Linked DNA regions of Homo sapiens: regions 1, 2, 4 and 5 are each linked to region 3. Evidence: promoter capture Hi-C in human tissues and cell types (Jung and others, 2019). All regions are on one chromosome and are shown on one strand. Each heading gives the region's core, a stretch centred on a gene start or on the middle of the fragment in contact. The rest is flanking DNA. Distances are from core to core; before and after follow the strand shown. Region 1 has its middle 160 kb from the start of LINC01429. Region 2 has its middle 140 kb from the start of LINC01429. Region 3 holds the start of SALL4 (spalt like transcription factor 4). Region 4 has its middle 120 kb from the start of LINC01429. Region 5 overlaps ATP9A (ATPase phospholipid transporting 9A (putative)).

Region 1 (2,700 bases), core at 30-2,529, 220 kb before region 3:
ATCCTGGCTAACACGGTGAGACCCCGTCTCAACTAAAAATACAAAAAATTAGCCGGGTGTGGTGGCGGGCGCCTATAGTCCCAGCTACTTGGGAGGCTGAGGCAGGAGAATGGCATGAACCCAGGAGGCGGAGCTTGCAGTGAGCTGAGATCATGCCACTGCACTCCAGCCTGGGCGACAGAGTGAGACTCCATCTCAAAAAAAAAAAAAAGGTCTCTTGTTTGTTTTCTGAAGCTCTAACTGCTTCTACAGGCTGTCTCTAAATCCATCACTAGCTGCACAGCCTTTGTTGTTCAACCTCCCCAAGCCTTAGTTTGCTCATCTGCCGTATCGGGATAATAATAATCGGACCTAGCCAGGCGCAGTGGCTTAGGCCTGTAGTCCCAGCACTTTGGGAGGCAAAGGCAGGTGGATCACCTGAAGTCGGGAGTTCAAGACTAGCCTGACCAACATGGAGAAACCCCATCTCTACTAAAAATACAAAATTAGCCGGGCGTGGTGGCACATACCTGTAATCCCAGCTACTGGAGAGGCTGAGACAGAAGAATCACTTGAACCTGGGAGGCAGAGTTTGCCAGGAGGCAGAGTTTGCCATGAGCCGAAATCACACCATTGCACTCCAGCCTGGGCAACAAAAGCAAAACTCCGTCTCAAAAAAATAAATAAATAATCAGACCTTCTTCACAACACCAATAGGAGATGTAAAGGTCTTAGTACAGTTTTTATTAAATACATTTGTATTATTTTTCTGGTATCTTGATCTCTTTTTGTCACTCGATATGACAGGGTAATTTTTTTTTTTTTTTTTTTTGAGACAAAGTCTCACTCTGTTGCCCAGGCTGGAGTGCAGTGGCACGACCACAGCTCACTGCAGCCTTGACCTCCCAGACTCAAGTGATCCTCCCACCTCAGCCTCCCAAGTAGCTGAGACTACAGGCACACACCACCACACCCAGCTAATTTTTAAATTTTTTGGTAGAAATGAGATCTCACTATGTTGTCCAGGCTGGTCTTGAACTCCTAGGCTCAAGCAATCTTTCAGCCTTGGCCTCTCAAAGTGCTGGTATCACAGGTGTGAACCACTGCACCTGGCCCTGGGTGACTATTTTGGATAGTGGCTTAGAACATAGGCTTTGTGGTCAGACAGGTGGGTTGTAAACCTAGCTCACCCACTTTTTAAGTGAACTTGGGTAGCTTACTAGCCATACAGGGGTTGAGAAAACTAAATGAGATAGTCCTTTAAAGATGCCAGCAGGAGACCTGGCATGTATGTGATCAATGCTACAGGGATGCCAGCTGATGCAAGGAGGACATGGTGCCGATTCATGTTGGACAGCAGCAGCATTTACAACAGAGAAAACTCTAGTATTTCCATGATGTTTGTCTACGCATACATATAGCACATAAGCCAACTTAGCCTTTTTGCAAATTCATTTAACAGTTTCTTATAGAAATATGTTATTCTGAGCCACATCAATATAAACCATCACACATTCTTTTTTAAAATATGCTGTACATTTAGAAGTATGGCTTGGCCTCCAATTTGAAGCTTGTCACTTTCTTTAGTGCCTCTAGTTATCACTGTGAGCCCATCAGCCTTGCTTATCCAACAAGTTTATGAATAGCAAATGTTGATGGCTTCATTGAGTTGTGACTATAAATGCAAGGAAAATGAGAACAAGGGTGAAGAGGTGGCTTCTTTATAACAGCTGTAATTTATCCAGGGTTTTGTGCTGGCCTTTGATTTGGGGGCTGACTCTGAATCTAGTGTTCCCCCGGATTGCATTAGGAGCAGCCCTTAGGGGTCAGATGGAATTCCAAGGTCCTGGAATTAGTTAGAAGAATGAGAATGCACATGTGTGAAGGGGCAGGGCAAGGGGCCTTTACAAAACTCATCCTTCAAGACCCAAACAACAGCTTTCTGCCCAGGTGACCTTGAGAGAGGACAGGGCCAACTTCTGGGACATGCAACCCTTGCAGTTACACAGGGCCCCGAGCTCAGACAGGTTCTAGCTTGGCTTAATGCTCTGCTGTGGCCATCTTGAAATTCTTAATAACATTTTTAACAAGAGGCCCTATGTTTTCATTTGCACCATGCCCTGCAAATTCTGTGGCTGATCCTGGGACCCTTGAGGACACTGAGGCTTTTGCTCACCCCTGGGCACAGTCGTGACTGTTATAATGAATGACAAGTATTTTGTACATCCGGGGAATAATACTGATCCCAAGTAACATGTATGAGCCAAGTACTTTACCCAGATGACCTTATTTAATCCGTCCATGGACCCATTTTAGAGGTGATGAAACTGAGACATGAAGATAATAATAACAGTTCACATTTATCAAGCATATGCATAATCTTACTTTTCACAACAATCCTTTACAGTGGCTCACGCCTGTAATCCCAGCACTTTGGGAGGCCGAGGCGGGTGGATCACGAGGTCAGGAGTTTGAGACCAGCATAGCCAACATGGTGAAACCCAGTCTCTACTAAAAATACAAAAATTAGCTGGGTGTGGAGGTGCACGCCTGTAATCCCAGCTACTCGGGAGGCTGAGGCAGGAGAATAGCTTGAACCCGGGAGGTGGAGGTTGCAGTGAGCCAAGATCACGCCATTGCACTCCAAGCCTGGGCGACAGGGCGAGACTCTGTCTCAAAAAAAAAAAAAAAGAAAAGCCTGTGAGCTTAGTACTATTGCTT
Region 2 (2,700 bases), core at 196-2,695, 200 kb before region 3:
AAACAAGTCACAGTAAAAATAGATACGTGGATTCCAGCCTTAAATTGCTTATGAAAGAAGCGAAGCTTAATTGTTTGGTTAATGCACTGCTGTCTTGTCCAGCCATGCATAATTTTAAACCTGCTGAAGATGATTTGGTTAGAATATGAGAGTCACTTCATTTTTCATATTAGCTTGCAAAAGTTTTGTCTCCATTCAGCACCAGAAGCTGCGTACACAATAGCATGCATGAATCTTGTGTATCAGTGAAGAGAGCCCCTTGAACTCCGCCTTACGGGAACAAAGAGTTTCCAAGATGCATCAGAGTAGCAGATGTTGAGTTATCTGAAGGGTCAGAATGCCAATTAGATATTGAACATGGCAGGAGGAGGGTGGAGTTTCCAAAACAAATGAAAGATGAATGGGAGCGGTCCCCGAGTTTAGGCTTAGGTCCTGCTGTTCTTTTGTACAATGATTTGTGGCAAATTTGTTTTGTCACTGAGGCATAGTTCCCCCTGGGTCTTAAAGTGATTTTGTAATCACCAAAAGATTTTTTTTTCTTTAAAATATACTTTTCCTGATCAAAACAGGATATAGTACCTTAAAAATAAATTTGAGTAAGCCACATATTATCTATGTGAGGGATGACGAAGAAGAGTCCTACATGAAAAAATAGAAGACAGAAGCAGTCAAGAGGGAGGGAATCATTCCACTAAAAAAAAAAAATTAGGTAGAAATCCAAAAGAATTCAGGGGATCATTTTTTCACACTTTAAAAAAGATAAAAACTTATTTGGTCTAGCAATTTACGAATTTTGCTGATTTTTCAGTTTCATAGGGTAAAGGTATAATTTTAAATCTAAGAAGCCTACAAATGAGAAAAAATGTGGGAAACCTGAGATGCAAAATGCTCCCATGGTTAATTATGTATTTGTATCGGTGTTACCATCATAAATCATCCTTAGAGAAACAAAACCAAGTAGTTAAGAGGACAGACACAATGGCGTTCTGTTTAAATAATTTCATTTGGTCCTTGAAATACTTTTGGCTATTTTTTCTCTCGAAACCACCCACATTTAGTAAAATTATATCACTGAGTAGACCCTACCCTGTTCTCTCTCCTGACTCCTGGCGAGTACTAGACCGTGGAATACCAAAGGCAAACCGGCAAAAAAGGAAATTGGGATTGCATTGATTTAAATCAGTCAGTGCTGCGACCAAATTATTTAGTTCTCTCTTGACCTTTGGAGGTCAAATTTGACTATTTACGCTATCTGCTAATGCTTTACTATTTTTCATTGCTTTGCCTGTTAACAATTCTGACCTGCAGCCTTTCCAGCCTGCAGGGTCGTTATATTAAACAATCGCTAATTGCTCCCGAAACATATGCTCCTGTTTTAAAATGCCATTTGAGTCCAAGCCCAACCAAAACCCATACATTTGTTTCACGAATGAAAACAAAATGTAAGCATTTTGATATTTCTGAGAAGCCAAACATCGTCAGATTTGAGTGATAAGGTGGAAAATAACCTCTTCCTCAAATTAACATGGAAATGGCTTAGAATAAAGACTATTCCTAAAAAACGAATATTAAAGGCAACACATACTCTCCTGTAATCACATTGTCAAATATGCTACTTTAACATTCCTGCAGAGAAATATGCTTTTATCCTTCCTAAAGATCTTAAATGCAAGAATATTATATGACATTTTCTTCCTCTTCATTTGTCTATCCTACAAATATGAGTGTCTGATGCTGATGATCCTGGTATAGAGGGGTGAGCTAGATAGGCAGAATTCTCTGAAATTGGACTTTTTGTTATCTGTATTGAAAATGTTACATTTGTTAAAGAACAAACGAGAGACAAACAGAGATGTTCACATTTCCAATGTTTACCATGAAGAGAGGTGAACACGAAGTTGTTTGTCAAGGAGCATGGTTTGCTTTCCAAAATTTATCTTAGATTGTATTTGAGACAAAAAGAACTTCTTTACTGCCCACAAGAGAAAAGATAAGTAATTCATTTCAGATCAAAATAGCCAGAGAAAAAGAGCAAATTAAGATAACTCAGCTAAAATAATGATAATAATAATACGGCTAATAATAACAATAATAACCCAGCTAATAATAATAATAATAATACAGCTAAACCATGCGATTGAAATTTCATGCAGGAATTTCCAGCAGTTTGGCTGGGGGTGGTGCATGCTGCTTTCAGCCCCCAGTGGTGGATCAGGGATATGTGATGTCAACATAATCTAGCAAAATCTCTGCTCTCGGTGATGCTGCTGTATGTAAACAAGTGAAATACAACAGGAAAGTCGTTCCCCATCAACTTCCTGGTTTCCTGCTCTTTACATTCTGACACGTAAACCTCTAATTCATTTCAGAATGCAAAGGTCACCGCAAAAAATCTGAGGCTAAATATACCCTTTTGTCCAGCAGAAGGATCACAGAGATCTTTTTTTTCTTTTTACCATAATGTGGCCATGGCCAGGTGTTTCCCATGTTTGCCTAACCGCATTGGGAGTGTGTTTACAGATCTGAAAAATAGCCTTCAACACTCATTTAAAATATACTTTTTAGCTGGAATAATTGTTAGAAGTATAGAAAAGTTGCAAAGTTAATACAGAGAGCTCCTGTCACCTCACTTCCCCTAACAGTAACATCTTGCCTACCAAGGGTACATTTGTCCAAACTAAGAAATTAATATTGGACAAA
Region 3 (2,700 bases), core at 75-2,574:
TGGGAACGTGATGAATAACTAATCAAGAGAATGCAATGCACAAATGTGGAGGGAGGGTTTATATCTGCACAGTCCCTTACAATGAAGTAAATGCCAAACAAAGACGCATGCCCAGAGCAGTTATGGAAAGACCAATCAAAGACTTAGCAGGTTGATGATTTCATCATTCATTTAACATTTATTGAGCATGTACATTGTGTAAAGCAGTTAGCCAAATTAAGTATACATGAATTTACGGTATAAATGTGTATACATGTAATATATCATATACACACACACAAGCCCCACTTTAAAAAATTCCAGGCATCATGTGTCAATGATACAATCACTTTGAACGATACACCTTTTCTGTAATAATGTGTGTATTGCACAAAAAAATTCCAATAGTGATTAGTAACAACCAGATACTGTGACAGTGCCCCATTGCCATTCCATGGGAGATGCAAGAGCATTGTCTCAGTAATAAAATATGATGTTATCAGGCATTTATGGCTCCTGGGGAAAAAAATGCAATTGCTTGCTGTTTTGATATTATCTCTGACTATGCTTGCTTATCATTTGCCATTTCTATATTTAGTAGCCAGTCATTTTGAAGTTAAAAAAAAATCAAGGTTTGCATTGTAACCACAAACCAGTCTTTGTGAACAGGAATCCTGGAGGCTATTAATCAGCTTTTAAAGGAGGTAAGTCATGGTGGTGGTGGGGTATCTGAAATTTTGGAAGTTCCGAGCTCACTTTAAGAGTTGAGATGGGTGGGAGGGCTGAAAACACCACCATTCATCATTCTTCAGTTATCTCGAGACTCAACTTAAACATTTTTAATCAAAAAGATGGGAGGGGACACGGGTCACATCTCAGGTTTGGGGGAATGTGTGTGCGTGTAGATGTGAAAACTGAGCCAAAATATTCCACTGTGAAGAGATCTCCCTTCTCGGCTGGTGGACATCAACCTTACCAAGTAATCTTTGGAGCAAGTAACTACCAAATAAAGCCGTTCCAAAACTTCTACGTAAGCTCCTACTTTTTAATGAGTACGCATTTCTCCCCATTTTCTTTTCCTCTCCAAGGACTGAGATAGCTGGAGCAAGGATGGGTCCCCCTCTGATTTCGTCCCCGCCCCAGCCAATCTGAGCCCGGATGCTAATTAGCTGCGCTCCCCTGATGAACACGCCTTTGTCACAAGTAGGCCCGGACTACAAAGCCCAGAATGCCTCACCCCTCCCTGATCAATGAGGGCTTATTTAAATGATCTCTGAGGTCTTGGACCCAGGCCAATCAGCTGTCAGGGCTCATGATAAATCGCAATGCATTATTGATAATAATAATTACTGGGACATGCGCGTTCCGGCCGAAGGGGGGTAAATTTCCCAACTCCAGGAATTTGTGGCGGAGAGGGCAAATAACTGCGGCTCTCCCGGCGCCCCGATGCTCGCACCATGTCGAGGCGCAAGCAGGCGAAACCCCAGCACATCAACTCGGAGGAGGACCAGGGCGAGCAGCAGCCGCAGCAGCAGACCCCGGAGTTTGCAGATGCGGCCCCAGCGGCGCCCGCGGCGGGGGAGCTGGGTGAGTGGGGCTGGGGCGCCCGCCCGGGGAGGGGAGCTTCCCGGACGTACGCGGGATCCTCGAGGGCGCAGGCTTCGGGGAGCGGGCGGCGTCCAGCGCAAATTCAGGAGCCGAGATTTGGGGGCTCAGTGCCCGGGAGGAGAGGTCTCCTCCTCTCCCCACCACCCCGCCTTTTGCACATTTCACACTTTTTTCCTCTTCTCCCCTCTTGTGTAAGTTTCACCCCCAGCTTTCTCCCCTAATTGTAAAATTGACCCCCACTCGCTCCTCTGTTCTCGCTCCCGAAAGGTTCCCTTCTCCTTGTCCTCTGCCCCTCACTTAATTGGTTCCACTCCCCTCACTGGTGTTACCCCCCCCCCTTGTAACTTAGGTCCCCCTCCCTCGCGTCGCTCTCAAAAGAAAGAACCCCGGGGGATCCCCACCCTCTCCACCAGCCCCTTGGGGCTTTTCTTGGAGGCTGGAGGAGGGGCGCACCCCTGGAAGACCCCCCGGAGGAGGACGATCTGTTGCACGCGCCCCTCCCGGGCCAAGTGGGGGGAGGGGGCGCGACCTCTCCCCACCCTCAGGAGCTGGGGTGCGGGCCACCCGCGCTGCGCAGGGGATTGGAGGGCCCAGAGAGGTGGGGGAGGAGGGCTCAATGTTTCCCTTTAAAATTTTTTTCTTTTCTGGATTTCGCCTTTTCTGCCCGGGCTGCGCCGCCTGCCGATCTTCGCCCTAACCTTTCGGGGCCTGACCTCCAGCCATCTTTGATTTCCGACTTCCTAAAAATAACCGCGGCAAGCCCGAGGGTGCGAGCCCCCAGTGGCCGGGGTGGCGGGCGCGCGGCAGCCCCACTGGGGTGCACCGGCCTCCCGTTTTGCGTGGCTTTTCTGGAGCGCTCGGCTTTCCACATTTGCGCTTGGGTGTGAAAGGGGAGAGGTGGGGGGCCAGAGCGAACTCCCGCGGCTGACCTGGCCCACGCTTCCGCGGCCAGCGTTTCCCAGATCGAGGGGAGTTCGGGACCCCAGCCGCGCCAGGAACGGCGGGGCCAACTCTGTTCCCACTTCATCACTTCACCGCGGAGGTTTTAGGAGCGAGGCGGTTTTCCACTATCTCGTCTCCATCCCGGCCCGCCAAATTGTCGCCTGATAAGTT
Region 4 (2,700 bases), core at 140-2,639, 180 kb before region 3:
GGTCATTTGACTCTGCAAAGCAGAGAACCAAGAAAGAAGCAGCTTGGAGCTGGGCGCAGTGGCTCACGCCTATAATCCCAGCACTTTGGGAGGCTGAGGCGGGCGGATCACGAGGTCAGGAGATTGAGACATCCTGCCTAACATGGCGAAACCCCGTCTCTACTAAAAAGTACAAAAAATTAGCCGGGCGTTATGGTGGGCGCCTGTCGTCCCAGCTACTCCAGAAGCTGAGGCAGGAGAATGGCGTGAACCCGGGAGGCGGAGCTTGCAGGGAGCCGAGATCGCGCCACTGCCCTCCAGCCTGGGCGACAGAGCGAGACTCCATCTCAAAAAAATTAAAAAAGAAGCAGCTTGGGACCAAGGAGAGTCATTGAAGCCTTAGACTACCTATGTAGTGTTTAATTGAGAGAAAATACGCATTTATCTTGTTTAAGGCACTGGTTTTTTGGCTGGATGTACATAATAGACTTTTTTTTAACCAGGAATAAAAATTAAGTTAGGCTTTTGTTTAACTTCAGTGTGCAATTGGCAAGCCCTTCTCCAACCCCCATGTGGCATAACAATCCTTTCTAGCTGCTTTAAGTTGCTGAGCCACCAATTTCTATTATTCCTGGAATCTGAGTCATCTATACTCCCTGTGTTATTACACATAATATGTTATTATGACTTTAATCAAGGAAATATTTTTTTCACTTGATATATTAGTCACATAGCTCCTGGATTGTCAGAAACAGCCAGGAATGCTAGCTAGTATTGCATCATTTTATCTGTTATTTCCTGTGGGGAGTGGCTTAAAATCAGACCAGCCAAATCTAGGCAGGAACTGGATCTTGCTTTCATTAGTTTCTGCAATTATTTTCAGAAGGAATCAGTTTCCAAGGCAGAGGAAGGAATAAATACTATTTGCTTGGTTTTACTACTGAAGTTGTGTAATTTACATAACAGCAAAATTACAGCTTAGAATTCTAAGTAGCAATTATAATGTTTAAAAAAAGACAAAACTTTGCACTTAAGCAATAGCAAAGAGTGGAAAATGTTAAATAAACTTCACACAAAATTTAAATATTTATTTAATCTCATTTGCCTGGAGGGAAAAAAAACCACATTCTTTAGCCCTAAAATTGAAATAGAAGAGAACTCTCACAGACAGTAAATTCAATTCTAAAAGCCCCAACGCGGCCGGGCGCGGTGGCCTACACCTGTAATCCCAGCACTTTGGGAGGCCGAGGCGGGCAGATCACGAGTTCAGGAGTTCAAGACCAGACTGTCCAATATGGTGAAACCTGTCTCTACTAAAAAATACAAAAATTAGCTGGGCATAGTGGCACGCACCTGTAGTCCCAGCTACTTGGGAGGCTGAGGCAGGAGAATCGCTTGAACCTGAAGGCAGAGGTTGCAGTGAGCCGAGATCATGCCACTGCACTCCAACCTGGGCCACAGAGTGAGACTCCGTCTCAAAAAAAAAAAAAAAAAAAAAAAAAAGCCCCAATACAGGAAAATAGATATGGAAGGAACTCAAAAACTCATACAAATAAGGTGGCAAATGAACTTTCTAAGCCTAATGATACATGTGATGTCACCCAAACAAAACAAAAAGCTAATTAGGCATTCTTGTTTTTCCCTTAAAGCCAATCTTTTTTTTTCTCCTCTTGGATCCATCCAGTGAGGTTTTATAACCCTCCTATTTGCCCTAAAGCAAATGGGCATTAAAACCATATTTTAATATTAGGTAAGTTATTGGTAAACAATCTTTGGTCCTAAAAAAGTGAAACTGTTCTTCATTCAGTGCATAAGGATTGAAAAAAGTCTTGGATTAGGAGATCAGTTTAATGCCTATCAAATCACTATGGAAAATGCTTTGAGAAACTCTGGCAGTGCCAGTTTCCCCAAAGTGAGGAATGGCTGCAAGGTGTGGTCTGAAGATTATTATTGTCCATAAGCTAGATAATTTAGATGGTGCATGGATGTGGCATTAAATAATGCTATAAGGCCTGGTGTGGTTGCTCATGCCTGTAATCCCAGCACTTTGGGAGGCTGAGGTAGGAGGATCGGTTGAGTCCAGGAGTTTGAGACCAGTCTCAGCAAATGGTGAAACCTCATCTCTATTAAAATACAAAAATTAGCCGGGCATGGTGGTGCGCACCTGTAATCCCAGTTTCTTGGGAGGCTGAGGCAGGAGAGCAAGACCTTGTCTCAAAAAAATAAAAATAAATAAAATAACAATAAATAGGCTGGGCGCAGTGGCTCACACCTGTAATCCCAGCACTTTGGGAGGCCGAGGCAGGTGGATCACAAGGTCAGGAGATCAAGACCATCCTGGCTAACATGGTGAAACCCCGTCTCTACTAAAAATACAAAAAATTAGACGGGCACGCTGGTGGGCGCCTGTAGTCCCAGCTACTCAGGAGGCTGAGGCAGGAGAATGGCGTGAACCCGGGAGGCTGAGCTTGTAGTGAGCCAAGATCGCACCACTGCACTCCAGCCTGGGCAACAGAGCAAGACTCCGTCTCAAAAAAAAAAAAACACAATAAATCTACAGGGGTTCATCTTCAATCTTTCGGATTACATTAAGGAGAAAGTCTCTGTTTGGTGCTAATAGATCTTTATCACCTCTCCACACTTAACTAATTTCCCTTGTTGAACAGACAGCAAGCCCCAGCTGCACAGCCTTTAGCAGATTAGACTGCTTCCCTAGAATTT
Region 5 (2,700 bases), core at 136-2,635, 130 kb after region 3:
ACTGCTTAATGTCCATGGGGTAGAAGGGAAGCTAATGCAAAGATCCTGGGCGGCTCACCAAATCAGAGAAAAATGAGGTTTCTGGAAGGAGAGCCACCAGGAAAGTTCTGGTTAAGTCAGCATTAGGACCCTCCAGGTGGTCTCTGTAGGGCTCTGCCATTAGGGATGTATCTTTCTACTCAAGGGTCAGAATCCTTCGAGATAGAATCTGATTGCTCTAGTGTATGTCATTTGTCACCCTCTTGGCCAACGGAATGGGCCAGGCCCCTGATTGACAGTCCTCTTGGGCCACCTTAGGTAATGGGCATGGTGTGGTTAATTTCCCCTGGGAAAGCTAGGAAGCCATTTTCAAAAGGGGAATGGGATTCTAGGCAGGCAAAATGCTGCAGGTGTCTTCCCCAGCAGGGACAGTACTGACTGCAGTGTGTGACATAGGGCAAACTCTCCAAAGATGGCAGCTGTCATTACTGTTAATAATAACAAACATCCTGAGAGACAGGCCGGCCACTCATTTGTCTTGTGTTTTAGGCACTCTTACCCAGAACGAGATGATTTTCAAACGGCTCCATCTCGGAACAGTAGCCTACGGCCTCGACTCAATGGACGAAGTACAAAGCCACATTTTCAGCATTTACACCCAGGTAAAGCCTTCCATTTCAACACCCAAAACAATTCTTTGACTTTTTTTTTTTAACAGCTATATTGAGATGTAATTCACAATACCGTACAATTCACCCATTTCAAGAGTACAATTCATTGTTTTTTTTTAAGCATATTCAGAGTTGAGCAACTGTCACTGCAATCGATTTTATGTTTACCCCAAAAAGAAGCCCTCTACCCATCAGCAGTCACTCCCCAATACCTCCCTTCTATACCCATGACACCCACACTTCCTTTACACTTTGAATAAAATTGCATTTGGGGTCCTTCCCCATCTTCCCTATCTTCAGGGCTAATCTGCTCTGCTGAAGTGCTGATGGACATTAGGAAAAACCTGTGAGAAAATTATATGCCCAATAAATAGAACCAGAAGGAACCTGCTGGTTGATTATACTTCAAGTTTACGACCACGTTGATGTTTTCCCTTTCCCTGGCTATGACCCGGAGCACCAATAACAAATGGTCTGCTTGTGAAATAATCATGACGTTACTGATTACCTTTAGTTTCTCATCTACATTCAACTCAACAATCACGAGGAAGAAATTAGTTCATCAGAGATAACTTGCAGTTTATCTGTTCCTACCTTTATTTTTCCTACCAAGTTTCCCAAAACCAGTCACTTTTCAGAGAAAGTATTACTGGCAAATATCCTAATATTCCTAAAGTGTTAGACCGGTGGGTCCCCATCTTGGCTGTGTGTCAGAATTGCTGGTGGAGTTTCAAAACAACACAGAACAAAAACGAGACATTTATTTGGGCTTGATACCCTGGAGATTCTTACTCATTAAGACTTAGGGCAGGGCGTGGCTTTGGGTTTTAAAAGTAAGACAAACACACCCCTTGCTAATTCTGAGGCACATCCAAGGCTGAGCCAGACCGCGTTAGACCAGCTCCATGTTGCAGCACTTGTTTGGAGATAACAAGAGAATAAGGAGGTCATATTTTGCTTAAATTCGTCGAAATAGAGAACATTCCCATAGTCAGAAGACCAGTAAGAAATATGAATGAATTATCTCTGTATACAGGTTAAAGGCAGAATCCCTGAATACTTCTTGATACGGTCATAACTGACATTTAATTTTCTGGAACATTTGTCAGTGGGCTGGATTTCCAGGCTGTCTCCTGAAAATGGCAGAGCAGGGGACAGTGTGACAGTGGGAGTGGATGTTAAGTTAGAACAGCTGACTTGACACAGTTCTTGTCATCATCTACAACCAGCAACAAAGCCCTTGTTGCTGTTCCAGGCTCCATGGGGAGGCGTCATGGCTGGTCTCCAAATGGATCCATGGACCTTTTTCAAAGATGTACTTTAGCACTATTAAGAAATCACGAGGAACTTCCCTGGACAGGGAGGATGAGCCGCACAGCCCCCGTTTCCTTTCTGTCTCTTTGACCGTCTTCCTCTGTGTGGTGATTTGGGGTTGGTGTCTCTGGGGCTCGGTGCTGGACTCTGTTATGTTGTTCCCCGGATGGCCCCTCACCCTGCTTCCATCGCTCTGTGGATGCTGATGGCTCTGTCTCCATCTCCATCTCTAGGCCTGACCTGGAGCTTTGGATTATAACGTAGCCGAATGTTTGGCATTGCTGCATGTGGCTCATAAGGATGCTGTACCTGGGACCCCTCCTGACTTTCTTCCCTCATCTCCTAAACCTATTCTCTCCCAGGGCTGCTTGTCTTAGTGCACACCACGCCCTCCATCCTGGTACCCTCGTCACCCCAGCTGACAGCCACTGCCCCTTCTCCAGTACCTGCTCCCACCCGATCACTAGATCACCCCTTCGGCCTTTTTTTTTTTTTTCCTTCTCCCTTTCTTCCCTTCCTTTCCTTACCCTCCCTCCCCTCCCCCAGCCCCTCGCCCACTCCCAGCCCTTCCGCCCCCCCCCCCCCCCACCTCCCTTCCTTCTTTTGTAACAGGGTCTCACTCTGTCACCCAGGCTGGAGTGCAGTGGTGCAATCACAGCTCACTGCAGCCTCAAACTTCTGGGCTCAAGCAATCCTCCCATCTCAGCCTCCCAAGTAGCTCGGACTACAAGTGTGC

What was found. Contacts are between HindIII fragments. The study calls those that stand out against the background at their distance.
Region 1: a contact is called between a fragment that was not itself captured here and the fragment with the promoter of SALL4 in region 3, in 1 of the 25 tissues and cell types used here (mesenchymal stem cells).
Region 2: a contact is called between a fragment that was not itself captured here and the fragment with the promoter of SALL4 in region 3, in 1 of the 25 tissues and cell types used here (mesendoderm cells).
Region 4: a contact is called between a fragment that was not itself captured here and the fragment with the promoter of SALL4 in region 3, in 1 of the 25 tissues and cell types used here (H1 embryonic stem cells).
Region 5: a fragment that was not itself captured here is called in contact with the fragment with the promoter of SALL4 in region 3 in 1 of the 25 tissues and cell types used here (hippocampus).

The regions. Positions count from the first base shown.
Region 1 is chr20:52,023,101-52,025,800 of GRCh38, reverse strand. No RefSeq gene overlaps it. Among named protein-coding and RNA genes, the nearest start is that of LINC01429, 160 kb to the right of the region's middle. The HindIII fragment of the contact is 9,290 bases long and covers 1-2,700 here.
Region 2 is chr20:52,001,830-52,004,529 of GRCh38, reverse strand. No RefSeq gene overlaps it. Among named protein-coding and RNA genes, the nearest start is that of LINC01429, 140 kb to the right of the region's middle. The HindIII fragment of the contact is 5,550 bases long and covers 1-2,700 here.
Region 3 is chr20:51,801,145-51,803,844 of GRCh38, reverse strand. SALL4 (spalt like transcription factor 4) reads left to right here and starts at 1,324. Exons shown (of 4, transcript NM_020436.5): 1 at 1,324-1,566. The coding sequence starts at 1,437. RefSeq lists enhancers at 978-1,619, 2,263-2,700. The HindIII fragment of the contact is 8,319 bases long and covers 1-2,700 here.
Region 4 is chr20:51,983,197-51,985,896 of GRCh38, reverse strand. No RefSeq gene overlaps it. Among named protein-coding and RNA genes, the nearest start is that of LINC01429, 120 kb to the right of the region's middle. The HindIII fragment of the contact is 7,832 bases long and covers 1-2,700 here.
Region 5 is chr20:51,667,938-51,670,637 of GRCh38, reverse strand. ATP9A (ATPase phospholipid transporting 9A (putative)) reads left to right here. Exons shown (of 28, transcript NM_006045.3): 13 at 529-641. Among named protein-coding and RNA genes, the nearest start is that of ATP9A, 99 kb to the left of the region's middle. The HindIII fragment of the contact is 5,724 bases long and covers 1-2,700 here.